3 separate regions of the Homo sapiens genome follow, and all the other regions are linked to region 2. Evidence: promoter capture Hi-C in 16 types of primary human blood cells and fetal thymus (Javierre and others, 2016). All regions are on one chromosome and are shown on one strand. Each heading gives the region's core, a stretch centred on a gene start or on the middle of the fragment in contact. The rest is flanking DNA. Distances are from core to core; before and after follow the strand shown.

Region 1 (2,700 bases), core at 1-2,500, 290 kb after region 2:
TCACCCCGAGCCTAGGCGCACAAAGGGCGTGGTCTGGCAGGGTTGGGGGCGTGGCCGCACAGAAACTGGCGGCAAGGGTCGTGGCCCTGGATCCTGCTGCGAGAAGGGGCGCGATTTCTTCCGGAGAGGTTCCCTGTCGCGCCCAAGTCTGGGAAGTGCCCTTTCTCTCTTAGGTACCACCTCATGGAGACCCCCGCGGCCGCCGCCCCCGCTGGGAGCTTATTCCCCTCCTTCCTGCTCCTGGCCTGCGGGACGCTGGTGGCCGCCTTGCTGGGCGCCGCTCACCGCCTGGGGCTCTTCTATCAGCTGCTGCACAAGGTGCGGGGCACAGAATGGGAGGTGGGCTGGGGGCAGTCAAAGAGGGAGGGGCCTCGTGGTGCTGCTTCCAGCTCACTCATTGTGCAGGGTGGGAAAGCGAGCCCCGACTAGTCCAGAGGGACTGGTAAGAGGTTCTGTCCAGGGCCCTGTCTCCATTGCCACGCTGTGTATGGAGGCCTGGACTTTGCCACTGGTAAGAGAGAACACGGAAGCTGCCGCTGCCGGGGCACTCGCACCCCACCTACCTCCTTCCCCAGTGACTCTTTTCACAGAACAGATGGACAGCACTCTGTGCTCCCTAACCTGGATGGGATAAATGGGGCAGAGGGCAGGCTCCAGCGAGGGGGTGGCAGTGACAGTTTCATAACAGTTGCCCTCTGCTGAGCTCAGTACTGTAGACTTTCTTACCTACCCCTTACCTTTTCCTTGAAAGTAGGTGCTGTTCTTTCTGTCTTCATTTTCTGCAAGAGGAAGCTGAGGCTCAGAGAGATTGTGTGGTGGTTTGCCCTAGGTGACATGTTTGGAGAGAGCTGACCCCACAGGTGTCCCCCTAAACTCCTTGCACCTCTGTTTGAAATTTACCCCTTCTCCAGACCCCTTCCTCAACCCTTTCTCTCCTAGCAGGGACCAAGCTTGACCTCTCCCTCCCCAAACCCTTCTCTACTGCTTCCTCTGCTAGCCAGGAGTGATGCCACTGACCTTCAGGACTTAGGAGATTTAAAGCAAGCCTTGGATGTGTAGGGCTGTGAGGCAGCTGGAGTTGGGAGGCCTCGGCACAGTCTGTGCCAGCAGCTCACTCCCGTGCCAGGCACATGGTGGCTGGCAGCCTGTCAACTAAGCCCTGGGCCTGTTTAGCGTCCATCAGGAGGGCATCAGGGAGGCTGGGATCAGGAGCCCAGCTGCCAGGCTCTGCAAGGATACTGGAGGGCAGGGAGGAGTCACAGCAGATGGCTCCCTGCCATCTGCTCTGCGTGCGTTGTGCCCCTGGCCAAACCCCCTGGGTTATATAACCCTCTCCTCTCTCCCTGATTGCCCTGCCATCCTGGAGACAGGCAGTGTAACAGTGGGGCACTTAAGAGCGTGGGTTCTATTGAACTTTCAGTCTTACTTGGGCAAGCCTTGATGTCCTCAGCTGTAAGAGGGATGTAATGACAAGAGGATCTGATAAGATGTTATGCCTTGGTTTGAGCCTGGCATGTAGTATAATATATGCCTAACCAAGACCAAGCTTCTCTTGACCTCTCACCCTGCTCCTGCCCCCTTACCTGGGGCAGGGGGATTGCCCCCTTTCCCAGCTGCCCTCTGCCCTGGCCTTTAACTTTATTGCTCCACCTGTCCTTGGGCCCAGGTGGACAAGGCAAGCGTCCGGCATGGCGGAGAGAACGTGGCCGCTGTGCTGAGGGCCCATGGTGTGCGGTTCATCTTCACGCTGGTCGGTGGGCACATTTCCCCGCTGCTGGTGGCCTGTGAGAAACTGGGCATCCGTGTGGTGGACACACGCCATGAGGTCACGGCCGTCTTTGCTGCTGATGCTATGGCCCGCCTGTCCGGTGAGGGCATTGCAGAGAGGGCTGGGGACTGGTTGGACTGTGGGCTAGAGTGTCTGTGAGGGTAGGGGTTTTTCAGAGGTGGAAGAATGGCCAAGAGAGTGGGCATGGCTGTGATGGGCTCTGTGTTCCAGGGACGGTGGGCGTGGCGGCAGTGACAGCAGGCCCTGGCCTCACCAACACGGTGACTGCGGTGAAGAATGCTCAGATGGCTCAGTCCCCAATCCTGCTTCTGGGTGGGGCTGCCAGCACTCTGCTGCAGGTACCCAGTCCTTGGGGGCCAGTGGGGGCCTAGGGGGGCTTGAAGGGCTCATGCGATAACCCTGCCACACCTCTGTCTTTGCCAGAACCGGGGTGCGCTCCAGGCTGTTGATCAGCTGTCCCTTTTCCGGCCACTCTGTAAGTTTTGTGTGTCTGTGCGGAGGGTGCGGGACATTGTGCCCACCCTGAGGGCCGCGATGGCTGCCGCCCAGTCGGGCACCCCAGGTAGGTGGAGGATGGTGATGCTGAGCAGTGCTGGGGCCGAGGGGCTGGGGACATGTTATGGACTCAGCGTCCTCCCTGTCCCTGCAGGTCCGGTGTTTGTGGAGCTGCCCGTTGACGTGCTGTACCCCTACTTCATGGTCCAGAAGGAGATGGTGCCAGCCAAGCCACCCAAGGGCCTCGTGGGCCGAGTGGTCTCCTGGTGAATAGCCCCACCCCTGCCATTCCCTCCTTTATCCCCCGTTCTCTCCTGCAGCTTCCAGCCCACACCCATCCTCCTTTGATTCACATGTGGACTGGGAGGAGACAGCTGGGGGGAGAGCATTCCAGGTAGAAGGAACAGCATGTGCAA
Region 2 (2,700 bases), core at 143-2,642:
GTTTGGAGTTTGCTCACTTAACACATCAGAAGTGGCTTTGTTCCGTATGGCAGCAAGTTCTGCAGAAGCCTCATTTGGGTGGGGGGAGTTTTATTAAAACAGTTTATCATGGAGAATTCCAACTATACAAAAGTAGAGCAAACAGTAAAATGGACTCTCATCTATCCATCACCAACCCATGACCAATGTCTTCAGCTGTCAGAGATTTATCTTATAGCTCCTTGCTTCCTCCTCCTCTCTCTACCTGTCTGAATTGTGTGAAGCACATCCTGGCCATAAGATCAGTTAACTTCTTAGTATTTCAGTATGTTTCTCTCAACGTTGTAAATGCCACTATTACACCTAAAGAAATCAACAATATCAAAAAGAAACAGCATACCTTAAAAAAAGTTTTAAAACACACGAAGCGTAGAAGTCGTAATTGCGCAGCTTAATGAGTTTTCACAAACACACGTGTTAAGTACTCTTCGGTGCAGCTCTGTCATCTCTAGAAATTATGAGTTGTCCCTGGCAGGGTTTCCATATGCCCAGGAAACAGACTGAGGACATGACTGGTGCCCGGCTGCACTATTGCAGGATCTCTCGAGCCCAGAGTGAATCAGGAGGGTTTTAGAAGCAAAGCTCCCATTTTAACACGTAACTGTCAAGGACCTTGAGCAAATCATGAGTTCCAAGCTTCAGTTTTAAGTGAGGATTAAAAGCTTTTTGCAGGTTTGAAGGAGCATTCGAATGACACACAATACAAACGGAATTATTACACATATAAGCATATGCCATATAAATATATTATCGTTTTGTTACGATTAATCACATTTATTCAGTGCACTGGCACCAGAATGATTTCTTTACACACACTTTGTCACGTAATGTTGAAACGTGTGTCCAGCATCTTGTTTGGTGCTGTTTTAATTTTCTCTTCTCAACATGGCTTTGCTATGCTTGTTTTGGAGCCGAAGGCCAGAGAATTTGAGAGACTTAGCTAGGTCCCCTACCCAGCACCTCGGTGGCGGAGTTGGCATCCCAGCCCTGCCCTGAGCCGTAGACCCGACTCCCTCTGGCGGGTCTCCAGGGTACGGGCGCTCCTCCAGCCCGACCATGCTTGGGCCTTGGGCCTTTCCGTAGTGCACAGCTCCGCCCCCTCAAATTCTATAGGACTCCGCCTCTCTGCCGGCTTCTGTAGGCCAATCACTGAGGCCTTAGAATAACAGAAGGCGGGGACAAGGCGGGGCTCTCACGAGATTGCCAGCAGCTTCCAGCCACTGATATGAGGAGGCATAGAGATAGACAGCGGTTCCTTCCAATAGACGTGAAGCCGAGGCCGGTATGAGCCAATGCGGTCGGGAGGCGGGGCTCGGGTGTGTGTGGAGGGGACCCTGTGGTTAGCAGCAGCTATCGCAGCGTCGGATGTTCAGAGCAGCAGAAGCCGGCGTCGTCGGATGTTGTGTTGCCCGCCACCATGAGCTACACAGGTGGGCCTGGCAGGGTGGGGTCGGGCTCTGCGTGGGGGATGGGACAGGGACGTGCGGATGCCGCACCAGGCTTGCCCGCACCTCCCCTGGGGCCCCGTCACTGCCTTCCCTGCGGTCACAAAATGGCGCCGCTGGCCCGTCGCCTCAGGGTCGCTGCCCTCACGCCTCGTTGCCTCAGCTCTCTGTGTCTGCAGCCGGCGTCCCGGCTCCCGGCCGCCTGATGTCTTGGCTTCTGTCGCCTGTGTCCGTGGGTCCGGGCCTCAGCGCACGAGGTCTCCGCCCCCACCACCTCCGTCCCTGGCCTGCGCTCCTGGACCTCGACGCCTTAGGTTTCCCTTTCTCAGGCCTTGGTCCTTGCGAGCAGGCAGCAGGCTCGGCTGCCGTCGCCATTGTCGCGTCCTCCCCCGCGCAGTTTCTCTGCAAAAACGCCGCAGCTCTACACCCCCATCCCGATCCCACCCACCACCCCCTTTTGTCTATTTCAGAACTGGGAAAGGCGCCAGGCCCTAGGGGGATAAGTAAATATTGGAAGGGTTTGGGCTGAGCGGGGAGCCTTGGGCCCCTAGGGGCTGAACTGCAAGGAATGACAAGGTTCCATGTTAATTCCCTCTGCGTCTGTCAAATGAACCGTGTCCGGTACAGACTGGGTATTGGGAATACAGACAAGAATTCCTCAAGCAGCTTAGAGGCGAGGATCTTAATAGGCAAATAAGCGAGTGTAGGATATATTTTAGGGTGGTCAGTACCGTGCGGGGGTCGCTCCACTACGTGGAGTGGTTGGAGCCTTCTGTAAAGAGGTGACATTTGAGCAGAGACCTAAATGGAGGGAGCGAATAAAGATATCTGGCCCAGGGAGCTTTTGCTGTAAAAGGCTTACGGGCAGGAACTGCCTGGCTTGTTAGAAGATCAGCCAGGGAGGCCAGTGGGAGGCCAATGGGATTTGAAAGGGAGAGTGGGTGACAGATCCGAGAGCCCCTCTCCGCCCCCCGCAATATGCTTGGGCGACTGTAAATCATCACTGGGTGAATTGCCAAGGCCTCCTGGGTTTGCCTTGGCAGTGACTGATGAGGCTTCTCGGCCAGGAGACTTACACTAGGCCTCCCTGTTTGGTGAGGGTATTATAGGCTTGAGCGTGTGTGGTTGCCAGGTAACCTGCATTCTACTTGGAATTTTGAGAACTGAGAATGCAACGTGAGTCTGTGGGGCTCCTTTGTAGACCACTTTATGTTGG
Region 3 (2,700 bases), core at 99-2,598, 260 kb after region 2:
CTTTGGGATTAAGCCCCAGTTGCCCACAGCAGCAACCTACTCTTCCTCACTCCTACTAGAGCTTTCTGGAATGATCTTGCGAATAAATTCCTTGCACTTGAATCATTGGCCCAAGAGAAGTCCATCTTAGCTTTATGCATGAGTAGATTCTTGGGAATAAAAAATAAAATATCTACTGGGGCTTAAGCAAGTTTGGGTATTCTTCTTCCCAAGTGCTGTACAAATGAGGAGAAAGTCCTTCTCCCTACCCATTTTGTCCACTCTATCATGCAACCTTGGCTTCATGTCAACAGAATATTGAAGAAGAGTGTCCCACAGCGGGAACCCACTTTCGTACCTGGTGGAGCTGACTTATTTGTAAGCACATGTGAGACTCACCCACACTGGGAGCTCCCTGGAATGATTGCAGAAAGGATGTTAGGTTGAGGACTAGGAAGCCTGCACTGGTGATGGAGGAAAATTAACTAATGAGATTCAAGGATTCATATGTATGTGATTTCATTGGCATGCTGAAGTTGGGAAGGGTTGGGGACTTTGGAATTGACATCCTAGTTGGTTTTTTGACTGAAAGGACAATGATAAAACAGCTGAGTGTCTGCTTTTTGCCTCCAGATCTGCACTGATCTTCCTCAACTCTTCTCTGTGCTCTGGGAGAATGACCCAGGTAGATGGCATCAATGGGTTTCCTTACTCTCTGGCTTCCACTTGGGTTTGGCCAATGAGAGACACAGGTGAGGGATTAGAGGGTGGAATGTATTTGTCTCCCTGGCTCCCTGCCTGCAGGGTACCTGCAGTGCTCTCCCTCCAGCTACCTACCCTCTGTGGGTCTGGGTTATTGTTTCCTCTGCTTGGCCCTTTTGGCATAGAAGCGATAAAGGCTCTCCACCATTGTGAGCCCCAAGGTATAGTAACATTCCTTGCCTACATTCTGCGCATGCCTCATCTGTCTAGAATGTCAATCATTTATTTATTATCTATCTATGTCTATCATCTATCGTTTATCTTTCATCCGTCTATATCTATCTTATGCTTCTCTGTCCTCTGTTGTCTATTTATATCTATGAATCTTTCTATTTTTCTATCATCTATCATTTATATATCTTTCTCTCCATCCATCTACCAATCTTTCTTCTTCTTTTTTTTTTGAGACGGAGTTTTGCTCTATTTCCCAGGCTGGAGTGGAGTGGCGAGATCTCGGCTCACTGCAAACTCTGCCTCCCGGGTTCATGCCATTCTCCTGCCTCAGCCTCCCAAGTGGCTGGGACTACAGGCGTCCACCACCGCGCCTGGCTAATTTTTTGTATTTTTAGTAGAGATGGGGTTTCACCATGTTAGCCAGGATGGTCTCGATCTCCTGACCTCGTGATCCGCCCGCCTTGGCCTCCCAAAGTGCTGGGATTACAGGCGTGAGCCACTGTGCCCGGCCTCTTCTCTTTTTTTTTTTTTTTTTTTTTGAGATGGAGTTTCACTCTTGTTGCCCAGGCTGGAATGCAATGGCGTGATCTTGGCTCACTGCAACCTCCGCTTCCTGGGTTCAAGCAATTCTCCTGCCTTAACCTCCTGAGTAGCTGGGATTACAGGCATGCACCACTACGCCTGGCTAATTTTTGTATTTTTAGTAGAGATGGGGTTTCTTCATGTTGGTCAGCCTGGTCTCGAACTCCCGACCTCAGGTGATCTGCCTGCCTTAGCCTCCCAAAGTGCTGGGATTACAGGCATGAGCCACTGAGCCTGGCCTAATTTTTGTATTTTTAAGTAGAGACAGGGTCACCATGTTGGCAGGCTGGTCTTGAACTACTGACCTCGTGATCCACCCTCCTTGGCCTGCCAATGTGCCGGGATTACAGGCATAAGCCACTGCACCCAGCCTTATCTGAGCCTTTCAAAGCCTCTATAGACAGCTCCTTCCCTAGCTTTTGGTTTAGTCTATTTGTCTCAACTGTCACTCACTGCCTCAGGCATCCATGAAGCTAAAATACCTTCCTGTAGCTGTTGTCAACAAAGGACCCCCAGAGTGAAGGCTTTTTGCATGGTTTATCTCAGAGCCAGGTCAAATACAGAGAGCTTTGCCAGTGGGATCTTGCAGGGAACCATTAGCTTGGTAAATAATGACAATTCTTGGCCGGGTGTGGTGGCTCACACCTGTAATCCCAGCACTTCGGGAGGCCGAGGTGGGCAGATCATTTGAGGTCGGGAGTTTGAGACCAGCTTGGCCAACATGGTAAAACGCTGTCTCTACTAAAAATACAAAAATTAGCCAGGCGTGGTGGTGCATGCCTGTAATTCCAGCTACTTGGGAGGCTGAGGCAGGAGAATTGCTTGAACCTGGGAGGCGGAGGTTGCAGTGAGCTGAGATTGCACCACCGCACTCCAGCCTGGGCGACAGAGAGAGAGAGACTCCATCTCAATAAATAAATAAATAAATAAATAAAATTTAAAAAATAATGACAATTCTTTGGGAATGAGGCTTGAAAGTGCTCTAGTTCTGTTTTGCTCTCTCTGGTGGATGCCAGGCTGCACCAGAGTTTGGGCTGGTATTTTTCAAGACGACCACGGAGCTGGAGAGTGGGGGAGAAGACCAGAGATGTTAAAATGCCGAGTATGCTGTTCTCACTGATATTCAGTAATTTTCTGAATACATTTTCTCTGAGTTGCTGCAAGACTTTAGTTAATTTCTAGAATTCCCAAAAATTTAGTCTA

Evidence for each region. Contacts are between HindIII fragments. The CHiCAGO score rates a contact against its expected background, and 5 or more counts as called.
Region 1: a contact is called between a fragment that was not itself captured here and the fragment with the promoter of AKAP8L in region 2, in 1 of 17 cell types (naive CD4 T cells). The highest score is 5.5, in naive CD4 T cells.
Region 3: a contact is called between a fragment that was not itself captured here and the fragment with the promoter of AKAP8L in region 2, in 1 of 17 cell types (M2 macrophages). The highest score is 5.7, in M2 macrophages.

What each region holds. Positions count from the first base shown.
Region 1 is chr19:15,122,543-15,125,242 of GRCh38, reverse strand. HACL2 (2-hydroxyacyl-CoA lyase 2) reads left to right here. Exons shown (of 16, transcript NM_006844.5): 2 at 174-318; 3 at 1,667-1,868; 4 at 2,000-2,127; 5 at 2,213-2,351; 6 at 2,439-2,550. The coding sequence starts at 184. ILVBL-AS1 (ILVBL antisense RNA 1) reads right to left here and starts at 1,083. Exons shown (of 3, transcript NR_186314.1): 1 at 1,018-1,083; 2 at 738-779. RefSeq lists a silencer at 1-3 and an enhancer at 1-717. The HindIII fragment of the contact is 596 bases long and covers 953-1,548 here.
Region 2 is chr19:15,417,680-15,420,379 of GRCh38, reverse strand. AKAP8L (A-kinase anchoring protein 8 like) reads left to right here and starts at 1,392. Exons shown (of 14, transcript NM_014371.4): 1 at 1,392-1,469. The coding sequence starts at 1,457. It overlaps WIZ (WIZ zinc finger), which reads left to right. Exons shown (of 13, transcript NM_001371589.1): 13 at 1-402. The HindIII fragment of the contact is 13,658 bases long and covers 704-2,700 here.
Region 3 is chr19:15,154,769-15,157,468 of GRCh38, reverse strand. No RefSeq gene overlaps it. Among named protein-coding and RNA genes, the nearest start is that of MIR6795, 23 kb to the left of the region's middle. The HindIII fragment of the contact is 3,609 bases long and covers 1-2,700 here.